Linked DNA regions of Homo sapiens: regions 1, 2 and 4 are each linked to region 3. The links are contacts of gene promoters, found by promoter capture Hi-C in blood cells and fetal thymus (Javierre and others, 2016). All regions are on one chromosome and are shown on one strand. The core of a region is centred on a gene start or on the middle of the fragment in contact, and the rest is flanking DNA. Distances in the headings are between cores, read along the strand shown. Region 1 overlaps WDR7 (WD repeat domain 7). Region 2 overlaps WDR7 (WD repeat domain 7). Region 3 holds the start of ONECUT2 (one cut homeobox 2). Region 4 overlaps WDR7 (WD repeat domain 7).

The links. The method cuts DNA at HindIII sites, captures the fragments that hold promoters and counts their contacts. A CHiCAGO score of 5 or more calls a contact.
Region 1: a contact is called between a fragment that was not itself captured here and the fragment with the promoter of ONECUT2 in region 3, in 2 of 17 cell types (M2 macrophages and megakaryocytes). The highest score is 6.0, in M2 macrophages.
Region 2: a fragment that was not itself captured here is called in contact with the fragment with the promoter of ONECUT2 in region 3 in 1 of 17 cell types (endothelial precursors); the score reaches 7.6 in endothelial precursors.
Region 4: a fragment that was not itself captured here is called in contact with the fragment with the promoter of ONECUT2 in region 3 in 1 of 17 cell types (endothelial precursors); the score reaches 6.4 in endothelial precursors.

Annotation. Positions count from the first base shown.
Region 1 is chr18:56,858,466-56,861,512 of GRCh38, forward strand. All of the region lies in intron 20 of WDR7 (WD repeat domain 7), which reads left to right. Among named protein-coding and RNA genes, the nearest start is that of WDR7-OT1, 180 kb to the right of the region's middle. The HindIII fragment of the contact is 4,950 bases long and covers 1-3,047 here.
Region 2 is chr18:56,879,764-56,882,777 of GRCh38, forward strand. WDR7 (WD repeat domain 7) reads left to right here. Exons shown (of 28, transcript NM_015285.3): 21 at 181-402. Among named protein-coding and RNA genes, the nearest start is that of WDR7-OT1, 160 kb to the right of the region's middle. The HindIII fragment of the contact is 1,842 bases long and covers 701-2,542 here.
Region 3 is chr18:57,434,085-57,436,801 of GRCh38, forward strand. It overlaps ONECUT2 (one cut homeobox 2), which reads left to right and starts at 1,290. Exons shown (of 2, transcript NM_004852.3): 1 at 1,290-2,717. The coding sequence starts at 1,633. RefSeq lists enhancers at 16-596, 597-1,176 and a silencer at 1,170-1,219. The HindIII fragment of the contact is 9,553 bases long and covers 906-2,717 here.
Region 4 is chr18:56,842,371-56,845,336 of GRCh38, forward strand. The region is part of intron 20 of WDR7 (WD repeat domain 7); the gene reads left to right. Among named protein-coding and RNA genes, the nearest start is that of WDR7, 190 kb to the left of the region's middle. The HindIII fragment of the contact is 1,533 bases long and covers 664-2,196 here.

The sequences.
Region 1 (3,047 bases), core at 327-2,826, 580 kb before region 3:
TTATTTTAAGATTTTTATCATTTATTTTTTAATGTAGAGACAAGGTCTCGCTCTGTTGCCCAGGCTGGTCTAGAACTCTTGGCCTCAAGCGATCCTCCTACCTCAATCCCCTAAGGTGCTGGGATTACAGGTGTGAGCCACCGTGCTGGCCTACTTCACATTCTAGCTTTAGTTCCCACTTACTGTTTTCAGTATCTCTATCTTGGGCCAAATTAAACTGGTTTTTCTTTCCCAGGTATAATTGGAGTTGTTCTGCTTCTAGGCTTGATTCATTAATTCAACAAATATTTATTTAGCATCAAATATTCAAATATTTATTAAGCACCTACATGCCAGGCATTGTTCTAAACCCTTGAGCAACATCTGCAAGCAAAATGACAGAAGTCGTCTCAACCCCTGCCTTCTTGCAGGGGGAAGGGGTTGAGGGGCAGTAAGTAGAATAAATTAGTGTATTTTTTATAATATATTAGAAGATGGTAGATGCTATGCCAAAAGACTAGAGAAGAGCAAAAGATGAAGAAGACGGTGGCCATGAGGGGAGGTGGTCAGGATAGGATTCAACTTCTGCTGTGGTTTATTCTTTAGGTGCACCCTTATTTCTTCTTGTCAAATCTGAATGGATTTAGGGACCTCTCTGGGGTGACACTTCTGTTGTGAGGTCCTCCCCTTTGTCTACTGAGGTCAACTTCCTCTGAATATCTATGACTTTCTTATTGTTGTTGACCTTGCTTATTGATAAGTATTGCTTTCTTCCTTGGTTTTCAGTTATTTGTTAATTTATCTTTACTTTCCTATTAAGCTCTGATATCTTTGAGGAAAGGGTTATTACACCTTAGTATACCTAATTTTTATTGTTTCTTTAGGGTAGTAGGTAAAAGCATTGGCTTTAGAGGTGGTCTGCCTGGTTTGCCTCCTGGCCCCACCACTCCCTAGCCACAAGACTGGGGCAGCTTATCAACCCGTGCCTCAGGTTCTTCTTTATCCTTGAGATTTCTTTCTAAAATTGATTGTTTTCTGCCTTATTTTCTATGTCACTCTCTTGCTTGCTCTTAGTATTATTATACTTTGGAATTTGTATGTCTATGTGTTCGCCTTCCTCCCCTGAATGTAAGGTACAAAAAGGCAGAAACCCTGTTATTAGTCCCTAGTATGCCTTCCCACCCATTTTGAATAAATGGATGTTTGTATGAGTAAAACGAAATAATTTCGAACACCTTGTGTCTTGTATAAATATATAAAATACACAAATATAAAATGAAATGTGCAGTGAACATTTGTGACCATTGAACTTAGGTCTTTTGTTAACACGTCTTAGTAATGATGAGGAAGAATATCCCTTCTTCATATGGCTTCTACTTTGTGTTATCCCGGGTAGTCCGGCTCTTCACACTTCATCTGCTTCCTTCCTGTGTTTCCCTTGGAAGTCATATAGGCATTCGCTCCTTTAATGTCTTTATCTTTATGGTTTTAGTAGCATTGATTTTTGTGGGGTATAACTAGTAAATGATTCTAAGATATTTTGAGAATATAAATGCAAGAAAAGTATTTTATAATAATGGATGAGAAAAGAGGGAAGGAGAAAGGGTTTCCATACTCTTTCATTGAATTTCAGCCCCCGAATGTGTGGTAATTCCTGGAATGATGGTAGTCAGTACTGATTCCCAAGCCCATCGCCTCTGCTGACTGGAAGCACAGAATGATGGGCCCATGCTTTCAAGAATATGTGACTGTTCTTGAGGGAACACTAAAATTAACTCGTATTCTATCTAAATTCTTATAACCATTAATACTTTATAGCCATTAATCTCCATATGATTTCCCTATGTAATCATGAGTGCATGCTTCAATACATTTACTCTTGAAAGACTGACTTGTAAAAATGTGAAAAAAGAACCATAGCTCATCCCAGCTAAAGCAAAATGGTTCAGTTTTACCATCCTTAAATTTGATCTATGTTTACATCTGTTTACAAATCTGAGCATTCCCTCCCCGCAACTGACCTAATGCTTCAGTGCCCTCTTCTAATAAAAAAATCAATATACACATCCAGCACTCATGAGTAACCCTATAATAATAAACCAGATCTCATGCAATTGAAAAAAATAATTTCAGGAAAAAACTCATTAGGATTGTGACCAACCACAGTCTTTCTTGAAAATAAGTATCATGCAGTTTAGGAATATAATAATCCTTTTAATTTGATTATGCTATTTTCTTAAGCCTTAATCTTAGTTAAAAAAATGTCTTTATTAAAATGATGTATTTGGTGTTCTTTTTCTTCACACAATTAATGATGCAGTTAATCTAAGGAATGTTAAATTAAGTTGTTTTAAAATCTGATTTAGCTCAATTTTATAATTCTTTTTCTGCCTCTTTTTTTTTCATGAACATTTACAATATAAATATTTATGAAGGAGTACATGTGTTCTAAACCATTGGTTTGTATCATATAATACATGAAAATATTACATAGTAAAAAGTGTATCTTTTAAAAAATATATCTTTGTTTTTCTAGAAATACAATTGCTCTATTTCTATGTTAACTGTTTTGCTTTCTATTTCACAAATGTTTTACATTAAAAAATCTGCTTTAAAAATATGAATTTTTAAATACTTTTGTAAAATACATCAATTACGTGAAACAGCGAAAGTACAGTTTATATTCTTTTTCTAATCCTTGATGGTTGCACTTTGATAAATAAATAGATCATCTAAGATTCAATAGGCCAATTGCAGCATATAATAGCTATTCAGAGGCAATTAAACTGCCTTTTTTCATGCCGGCGTGTGAGCCGCCCTTTCACAACCTTCAACTTGATTCGTGGTGATTCAAAATTAACTTAAAAGTCTTGTTTGCTGACAGCTTAAGGCTTAATTGACTGAAAGCCAAATAGAGTGTGTTCTGTATTCAGCACTAAGGCTATTGATAAAGCCATGTGTAAATTGTGCATGGTGAAAGACAGCGATTGGGCCTCCTGTTCTTGTATTAGTCCACAACTTAGCATTGCTGCACAGTCAGAATTGCTTTGTCAAGTCTTTTATCACAC
Region 2 (3,014 bases), core at 372-2,871, 550 kb before region 3:
AAGGTTAGAGATAGGGGTCTGTCTAAATTCATCCTTTTGCCTGTGAGTAACCATTTGTCCTAGTGCCATTTGCTGAAAATGCTATTCTTTCCGAACGTGCAGTCCTGAATGTTTTTCTAATCATGTGTCTTTTTGTATATTGATTTGTTCTAAGTTGAGATTCTATGTTTTGGTCTTCAGGTTGCTTATCAAGTGTCCCACAAATGAAAAAAATTTCTACATCTTACGAGGAAAGACGGAAGCAAGCTACCGCTATTGTTTTACTTGGAGTAATAGGAGCTGAATTTGGTGCTGAAATTGAACCTCCTAAACTATTGACCAGACCTCGAAGCTCTAGCCAAATTCCTGAGGGATTCGGGTTGACTAGTGGTGGATCCAACTACTCGCTGGCCAGACATACTTGTAAGTTTTAAAACTTCTAATGCTGATCTGTTGCTTCTGAATACATATTATTTGTCAGCAAAATCTCATAACATTGACTATATCCTGAGTTTTAGCTCATTTAGATTGCTTGCGTGAAGTTAGAAAGCAGTACAATCTGGCACATTTCCCGTTAGTTACAGTAACCTGAACTCCTTTTTAAAAGTTAAAACATCGTCTTTTAAATGCTATTCTTAAAATAACACATTTCTGACCTTTGTATTTTTGCATTGTTCGTCAAGATTTTAGCCAGAATTTATGAAAGCTAGATTCAAGTTAAAGCTTTTAAAATAATTTCTGGAAAACTATGCAGTTTGTTCTGAATGTGGTTTGAAAAGTCAGGACTGGGGTGGAACACCAGTCTTTTCTTTTGAAAAGAAAATATATTCATTCTCCTTTCAATAAATAAATTCTCAACACATATTTGTTAAATTAATGGGCATATTAATAAATTTGTATATGTGATAATACATATAAATAATACATGGGTTTATGAAAAAGAGCATACATGATGAATTATGAATTAACCCTGTAATTTAAAAAATATTCCAGTAACAGTTTTTAAATGACTATAGACTATAACAATCAAAATTCAAAGGGCTGTGTCATTCTACTCTCTTTGGTTCTGTGCTTGGTATGTTAATAATAGGTAAGGGTGCTTTAAAATAAGCTCTTTTGGTTCTTCAGTGTCAGAATTCCTTTCAGTAAGGTCAGAGTGGCATGTGGCACCATATAGCAAAATTATTTCTAATAAATTGTGTCCTCTTAAGGAACAAATATAGTCCAACTGAATACATCACAAAATATTCTTGTAGAACAAAATGCAATAGATCCTTTTGCTTTTTTGGCCTTTAAGCAAGAGAAAAAGATGCATGTTACTTTGTTATTTATGACAGCAGTGAACTTCACTGGACCATTGCCACATACTCTTGCTGTAAAACTGAGGGCCATGTTAGTGACTTTTATTATAAAAGCCCTTCAATAGACTTAGCTGCCCCTCCTATAACTGTTTTTTGAAAGACTTCATTCAACAAATACTTATTAGTGATAATCTCTTGATCTCAGTTTGAGAATCAGAGTAATAACGTTTAAATTTAAACAATACCACCACCAACCATAATGATGCAACTATTATGAGCACTATTTTTTTTTAGCTCTTTACATGCATTACCTCACTTCATCCTCATAATAACCCTGTAAAGTGGATCCCTCTTATCTCGATTTTATGCATAAAGCTGGTGGGGCATAGAGAGGTTTAGTTAACCTGGCAAGGATCATACCTCTGGGAAAGGAGTTTTTGTTTCCATCTAGTCTGTTGTTCCAGAGTTCATGCTTTTGACCATTATGCAAACTGCTGCTATTCAGTGGCTCCCAGTTGGAAAGGGCTTAATGACTAATATGTGCTGTAACTTTACAATTTATTGATTTATTTTATTTTATTTTTTGAGACAGAGTCTCTCTCTGTCACCCAGGCTGGAGTGCAGTGGCATGATCTTGGTTCACTGCAACCTCCTGCCTCAGCCTCCCAAGTAGCCAGGATTACAGGTGTAGGCCACGATGACTGGGTAATTTTTGTATTTTTCATAGAGACGGGGTTTCCCCATGTTGGCCAGGCTGGCCTCAAACTCCTGACCAGAAAGGATCCACCCACCTCAGCCTCCCAAAGTGCTAGGATTACAGGCATGAGCCACTGCACCTGGCTATAACTTTACAATTTAAAAAACACTTTCTTTCCTGTCTTTCCCCTCATTTGATCTTCAAAATGAACTTAAGACTTCTTCAAAGTGACTCAGCCAAAAAGTAGTAAAACCTAAACTTGAACTCAAGTGTCTTGCGACCTGAGAACCGTTTCCCTTCTCCACCTGGGCACATTACTCTCCCTCTACGGCCAACAACTACATGCTTACTGGCTCCTACCTCCCCACTCGGGCTTATTTATCTTTTCTCAAGTTCTTCAAGATCCCTGCTATCCATTCCTAAAACCTTGCTTAAATCTCACCATTTCTACAAAGGGCTCTTTAATTAGTCTAGCTTATCTGTCACTTCAGACAGCCCAGGACTTAACATATGTAGAGCAGGTCCTTATTTAGAAGTTTGGCATTAGACTATTAGAGGTTAATGAAGCTTTGACATGATTTGGTGTGGTGGCTTTCAAACTTTTTTGCTCAATAACTCCCTGAGAGTGTCAAGAAATGTCTAATCCTTTGCACATTTTATGTTGACAGCTACAACTTTTTAATTGCAAAATATATTTTCACAGTATCTTGAGGAGATTGTGAATATTGATGTTTAAAAATAAAACTTATGGCTCTTTCTAATATATTCAGTAGAATATTTAACTATTTCATATCCATCATCATCAATTTTTAATAAATACCTGAACAAACTTCCCATTAAAAATCAGAAATCTTAAATCCTTTATTATTTTCTTTGAAGTGGAAATTTCTACCCTCACAGTTTTAGGGAAGGAGTTCATTAGCAAATTTAGCACCCAGAAATCAATTCCTTTAAAATACCTAGGTCTTAAACTGTTTGTGCTTCTAAAACTACCTATTCCTTGAAACTTTTAATATACTCCTGTTTGAAGAGGGTTA
Region 3 (2,717 bases), core at 40-2,539:
GCCGGGTGTTGGCCTCTCTGTCTTCAACTACCCCTCCACCCCGACTCGGACTGCAGAAATCTCCAACTCTCTGTCCCCCAGTTCCACTCCCACCTCCAGACCTGGGGTTGCCAAACAACGGAAATTCTAGGAAGACGTAGGTGCGGTTTTTAAAGCCTTGGCTTGTGAGCGTTCTCAGGCTGGCCGGGGCGCTGGTCTTTTCAGAAACAAGGTTTGAATATGCAGGTGTCAGCCAGGATTCCTTGTCGTCTGCCCACCGCCGTTTCTCTCCCGGGATTTGAGAGAAGCGGGAGTGTGTGTGTGTGTGTGTGTGTGTGTGTGTGCGCGTGTGTGTGTCTCGTGTTAGGAGAAAGGTCCGTGGTTGCCGTCTCAGCTGGTTTGCTTACTCTCTGCCCCCAGGAGAAGTTTGCTCACTTGGGACACCAGCGACCCTCCTCACCTCCACCTCACCGGTTCTACACTCTCCCCACTTCTTTCCAAGTCGCTGATGCAGAAAGCACTTGGTCACCTTGAAACGGCAGCTCCCGGAATTCTAGTTTTGTTTTGCAATCTAGCAGGGCTCTTCGGAAGCCTCATAACTGAGATTTATGGGCTCACCGGGTAATTAAATGATGTTATTGTGTTAACTTTGCATGCATTACTGCTGCCCGCGCCGCCCGTGGGCCGCCGGCCGGCCGCAGCTCGCTGGCGACGAGGGCACTACAGTTGCTCTGACCGCGTAGATTATGCATGTCCCGGCCTCGGGAATTTACCATGCATTAGAATACATTAGCGCCTGCATTTTAAAAGGCTAAACTATTGGCTCCCAGCTAGGGACTCTCGGTAAGTGGCTTGTTAGTGACGAGTGTTTGTCTATACTGGCACATAGCGGAGTCTTTTGCTCCCGGCTTACTCGCCTCCAGGAAAGCTTTGGGGTGAGGCGAAGGCGATTGAAGCAATGCCCCTTCCCCCAGATCGCAGCTGCTCAGGGGGGACACAGCACGGCATCTTTCACCGAATCTCTCTCGCTCGCTCGCACTCCAGCCTCCCTCTCCCCAGCGACCCCCCCACCTTCTCCTCCCTCCCTCTCCTTGACGTTTGATTCCAGTAGCAAAGGAGGTAAAAAAGGCACCGAGCCGTCAGCCAAACCTGAAAAGTGCGGCCCCGCCCCCTCCACAGCCACTGGTAGCTTCCCGTGGAAGGCCCGCCTCCCGGGGCAGCTGCGGCCTCGGAGTGGTTGCGCTTGGCGCCCGTCGGGCGTGGCCCCGCCCCAGGTCCGGGAGGGTAGGTTGGCTGCCCCGGCGAGCGGCAGAGCCCTTCTGGACAGCTCCCGCTCACCCAAACAGAAGACGTCGGCGCCGGAGCGGGCTCGGACATGGCGAGGCTGCGAGCCGGCCCGAGCGGCGGGGCCCGGTGATCCCTCCCTCCCTCCCCGTCCCCTCCCCTCTCCCGCACGCACGCCCCGTCCGCCCCCACCCCGCCCCCACCCCGGGCGAGCCCGCCCGCAGCCCGGGGCGCACACCCGCACGCGCACTCCTCTCCACTCACTCCCGCGCCCGCCCCCACTCCCGCAGCCGAGCCCCGCCACGCGCGCCTTGCCCGCCCGCCGGCCGCCCCCGCCGCCCCCGCCGCCCCCGGGCCCTGATGGACTGAATGAAGGCTGCCTACACCGCCTATCGATGCCTCACCAAAGACCTAGAAGGCTGCGCCATGAACCCGGAGCTGACAATGGAAAGTCTGGGCACTTTGCACGGGCCGGCCGGCGGCGGCAGTGGCGGGGGCGGCGGCGGGGGCGGCGGGGGCGGCGGCGGGGGCCCGGGCCATGAGCAGGAGCTGCTGGCCAGCCCCAGCCCCCACCACGCGGGCCGCGGCGCCGCTGGCTCGCTGCGGGGCCCTCCGCCGCCTCCAACCGCGCACCAGGAGCTGGGCACGGCGGCAGCGGCGGCAGCGGCGGCGTCGCGCTCGGCCATGGTCACCAGCATGGCCTCGATCCTGGACGGCGGCGACTACCGGCCCGAGCTCTCCATCCCGCTGCACCACGCCATGAGCATGTCCTGCGACTCGTCTCCGCCTGGCATGGGCATGAGCAACACCTACACCACGCTGACACCGCTCCAGCCGCTGCCACCCATCTCCACCGTGTCTGACAAGTTCCACCACCCTCACCCGCACCACCATCCGCACCACCACCACCACCACCACCACCAGCGCCTGTCCGGCAACGTCAGCGGCAGCTTCACCCTCATGCGCGACGAGCGCGGGCTCCCGGCCATGAACAACCTCTACAGTCCCTACAAGGAGATGCCCGGCATGAGCCAGAGCCTGTCCCCGCTGGCCGCCACGCCGCTGGGCAACGGGCTAGGCGGCCTCCACAACGCGCAGCAGAGTCTGCCCAACTACGGTCCGCCGGGCCACGACAAAATGCTCAGCCCCAACTTCGACGCGCACCACACTGCCATGCTGACCCGCGGTGAGCAACACCTGTCCCGCGGCCTGGGCACCCCACCTGCGGCCATGATGTCGCACCTGAACGGCCTGCACCACCCGGGCCACACTCAGTCTCACGGGCCGGTGCTGGCACCCAGTCGCGAGCGGCCACCCTCGTCCTCATCGGGCTCGCAGGTGGCCACGTCGGGCCAGCTGGAAGAAATCAACACCAAAGAGGTGGCCCAGCGCATCACAGCGGAGCTGAAGCGCTACAGTATCCCCCAGGCGATCTTTGCGCAGAGGGTGCTGTG
Region 4 (2,966 bases), core at 180-2,679, 590 kb before region 3:
TCTCAATAACAGCATTAGTCCGTTCACTAAGGCAGTGCTCTTATGATCTAATCATCTCTTAAAGGTCCCACACTTCTCAACACTGTTGCATTGGGGATTAAGTACATTTCAAACAATAGCAAGGACTGACGCCATGTTGCAAGGTTTGATATTACAGTAAACAGAAAGGTATAAGGTTGTTCCCTGATTCTAAGCACTTGACAGTCTATTGTATAGGAGACTGTAAGTAAAGGATTCGTAGTACTTCGGTATAGCCTATTCAAAATTCCCATTGAAGTATGCTAAATATAACATCCTTTTAGTGTTTTATTCATGTTTTCTCTCTTACACACACACACACAGTGATCAATGGCAAATGCACATAGGAAACTACTAAATTACCGTGGAAGTATTTTAACGTTTTAGAAAAACTTTATTTGAAGATTTTTGATAGCTTTTAATTTGGTTATATACTTTTAGCTTTAGAGCCATACTGTCAGAATTTTGGGGAGAGAAGAGACATTGCAGACCAAAACAGTGACACATTTATGTGCTACTAGAAAATTACAGACATTTTACACCAAAAAAGAATTAACCTGCTGCCTATTGCTTCTCTTTTTTTTTGGCATTTGATGTTGTTGCTGTAAGACTATTAATTTTAAACTAGTGCTATAAGCAGCTGGAAGCTTTGATTCTGGTGATTCATCCCGTTACCTCTGAACAGATGAAAAGAAGTAAATGAATTTTGATGTTGAAAGTCCCCTTTCTTACAAAAATCCATTAATGATGTTAATTAAATGAATATTTGCCTCTTTCAGCTGTCTAGCTATTGAAAATTGGGCATTAGATCACTTTTTTAAACTGTGAAAGTTTCTTTATTGTGCCATTTAAATTATTTTTAAGTGGCCAAATCAGCGGTGTTAAGTATGTACACATTGTTGTTCAGCCATCACCACCAATCGTTCTCCGAAACTTTTTCATCTTCTCAAAGTGAAACCTTATACCCATTGAATGCTAACTTCCCATTCTTTCCTGCCTCCATCCTCTGTCAACCACTGTTCTGCTTTCTGTCTCTATGAATTTGGCTAATGTAGGTAGTTCATATAAGTGGAATCAAATAAGTGTCTGGCTTATTTCACTTAGCATAGTGGCTTTAAGGTTTATCCATGTTAGAGCTTGTGTCAGGAGCTTACAATTGTGTTGATCCATTCAACAGAGTGGATCTGTCATTCTACAGACACTTGGGTTTCTTCTATCTTTTGGCGACTGTGAATAATGCTGCTATGAATATTGATATAGAACTATCTGTTCAAGTCCCTGCTTTCAGTTATTTTAGGTACACAGGATTGGATTTGTTGTAATACATGGTCATTCTATCTTTAATATTTTGAGGAACTGTCATACTGTTTTCTACAGTGGCTGTACCATTTTACATTCCTACTAGCGGTGCATTATAGTCTCAGTTTCTCCACATCCTCATCAACACTCGATATTTTCTTTTTTCTTTCTTTTTTTTTTTTTTTTGTTTTTTGAGATGGAGTCTCGCTGTGTTGCCCAGGTTGGAGTGCAGTGGTACAATCTTGGTTCACTGCAACGTCTGCCTCCCAGGTTCAAGCAATTGTCCTGCCTCAGCCTCCTGAGTAGCTGGGATTATAGGCATACACCACCACGCCTGGCTAATTTTTGTATTTTTAGTAGAGATGGGGCTTCACCATGTTGGTCAGGCTGGTCTCGAAATCTTGACCTTGTGATCTGCCTGCCTCGTCCTCCCAAAGTGCTAGGATTACAGGCATGAGCCACCACACTCAATCTATTTTTTTTTTTTTAAATAATAGCAATCCTAATGAGCGTGAAGTGTGAAGTTATATAGGTATCTCATTGTGATTTTGATTTGAATTTCCCTAATGATTAGTGATGCTGAGGCAAAAGAACATTATAATAATTATTGACCATTACTTTAACTTTTTAAAAAATAGATACATCATTTCTGATGCTTATGTTCAGTGTCCTATTATTAGAATAAATTTTTCCTCATTGGTATACAATTTCTCAACTTCATTTATATGAGAGTGGCTTTTAAAATGATCCATGGTGTTTATTGTGTTACACCCTACTAAGGACAGTCACAAAAAGATTAGACTCTAAATTGAAATAAAATTGTTATTCTTTTCACATGTAGTTTAGAGAATATAATTTTGGGCTATACTTTTGAGCTTAAGCTTTTAATTCATTGCTTTAAATTTTAAATGCTTATGGTAAGAGAATAAAGAGCTACCGCTCTGCAGCCATAGAGAAACCTTACATTCAACAAGGTTCAAACAAGGCCTTACAAGGCTAAAGGCTACTGTTCACTAGAAATGAATGATTTATCAGAGGGGAAATATGCACACATAGGTTGGTAGAGATAATGAGAACTGAGGAACTAGCAAGGCTTAAAATTGTCCTGCTAGTTATATTGATTTAAAGACTCTTTCCTGGTATAGTAGTTCCTCCTTATCTGCAGTTTCAGTTACTCATGGTACAATACAGTAAGATATTTAGAGAGAGAGACCACATTCATATAATTATTACAGTATATTATAATTGTAGTATTTTATCATTAGTTATTGTTAATGCCATTCTGTGCCTAATTTATAAGTTAAACTTTATCATATGTATGTATAGGGAAAAAACATATATAGGATTTGGTGCTATCTGAGGTTTCAAGTATCCACTGGGGTACTTGGAATATATCTCCTATGGATAACCAGGGGCTACTGTATATTTTCCTCTTGTATAGATACAATGATTTGGTTGGAATGAATTGATCTGATATGTCCCACTCTATGCAGTTATGTTAAGTATTTACAAAAAGGGATCTTTACTAACCAAAAGATTTTCTCTTTTAATAATACCTTACTTGGTTGTATATGAAAAGTTGCAAAGCTCTGTAGTGTTTCTATGCATAAAACTTACTTTATTTTTGGTATTTTGAGTATTTTTTAATT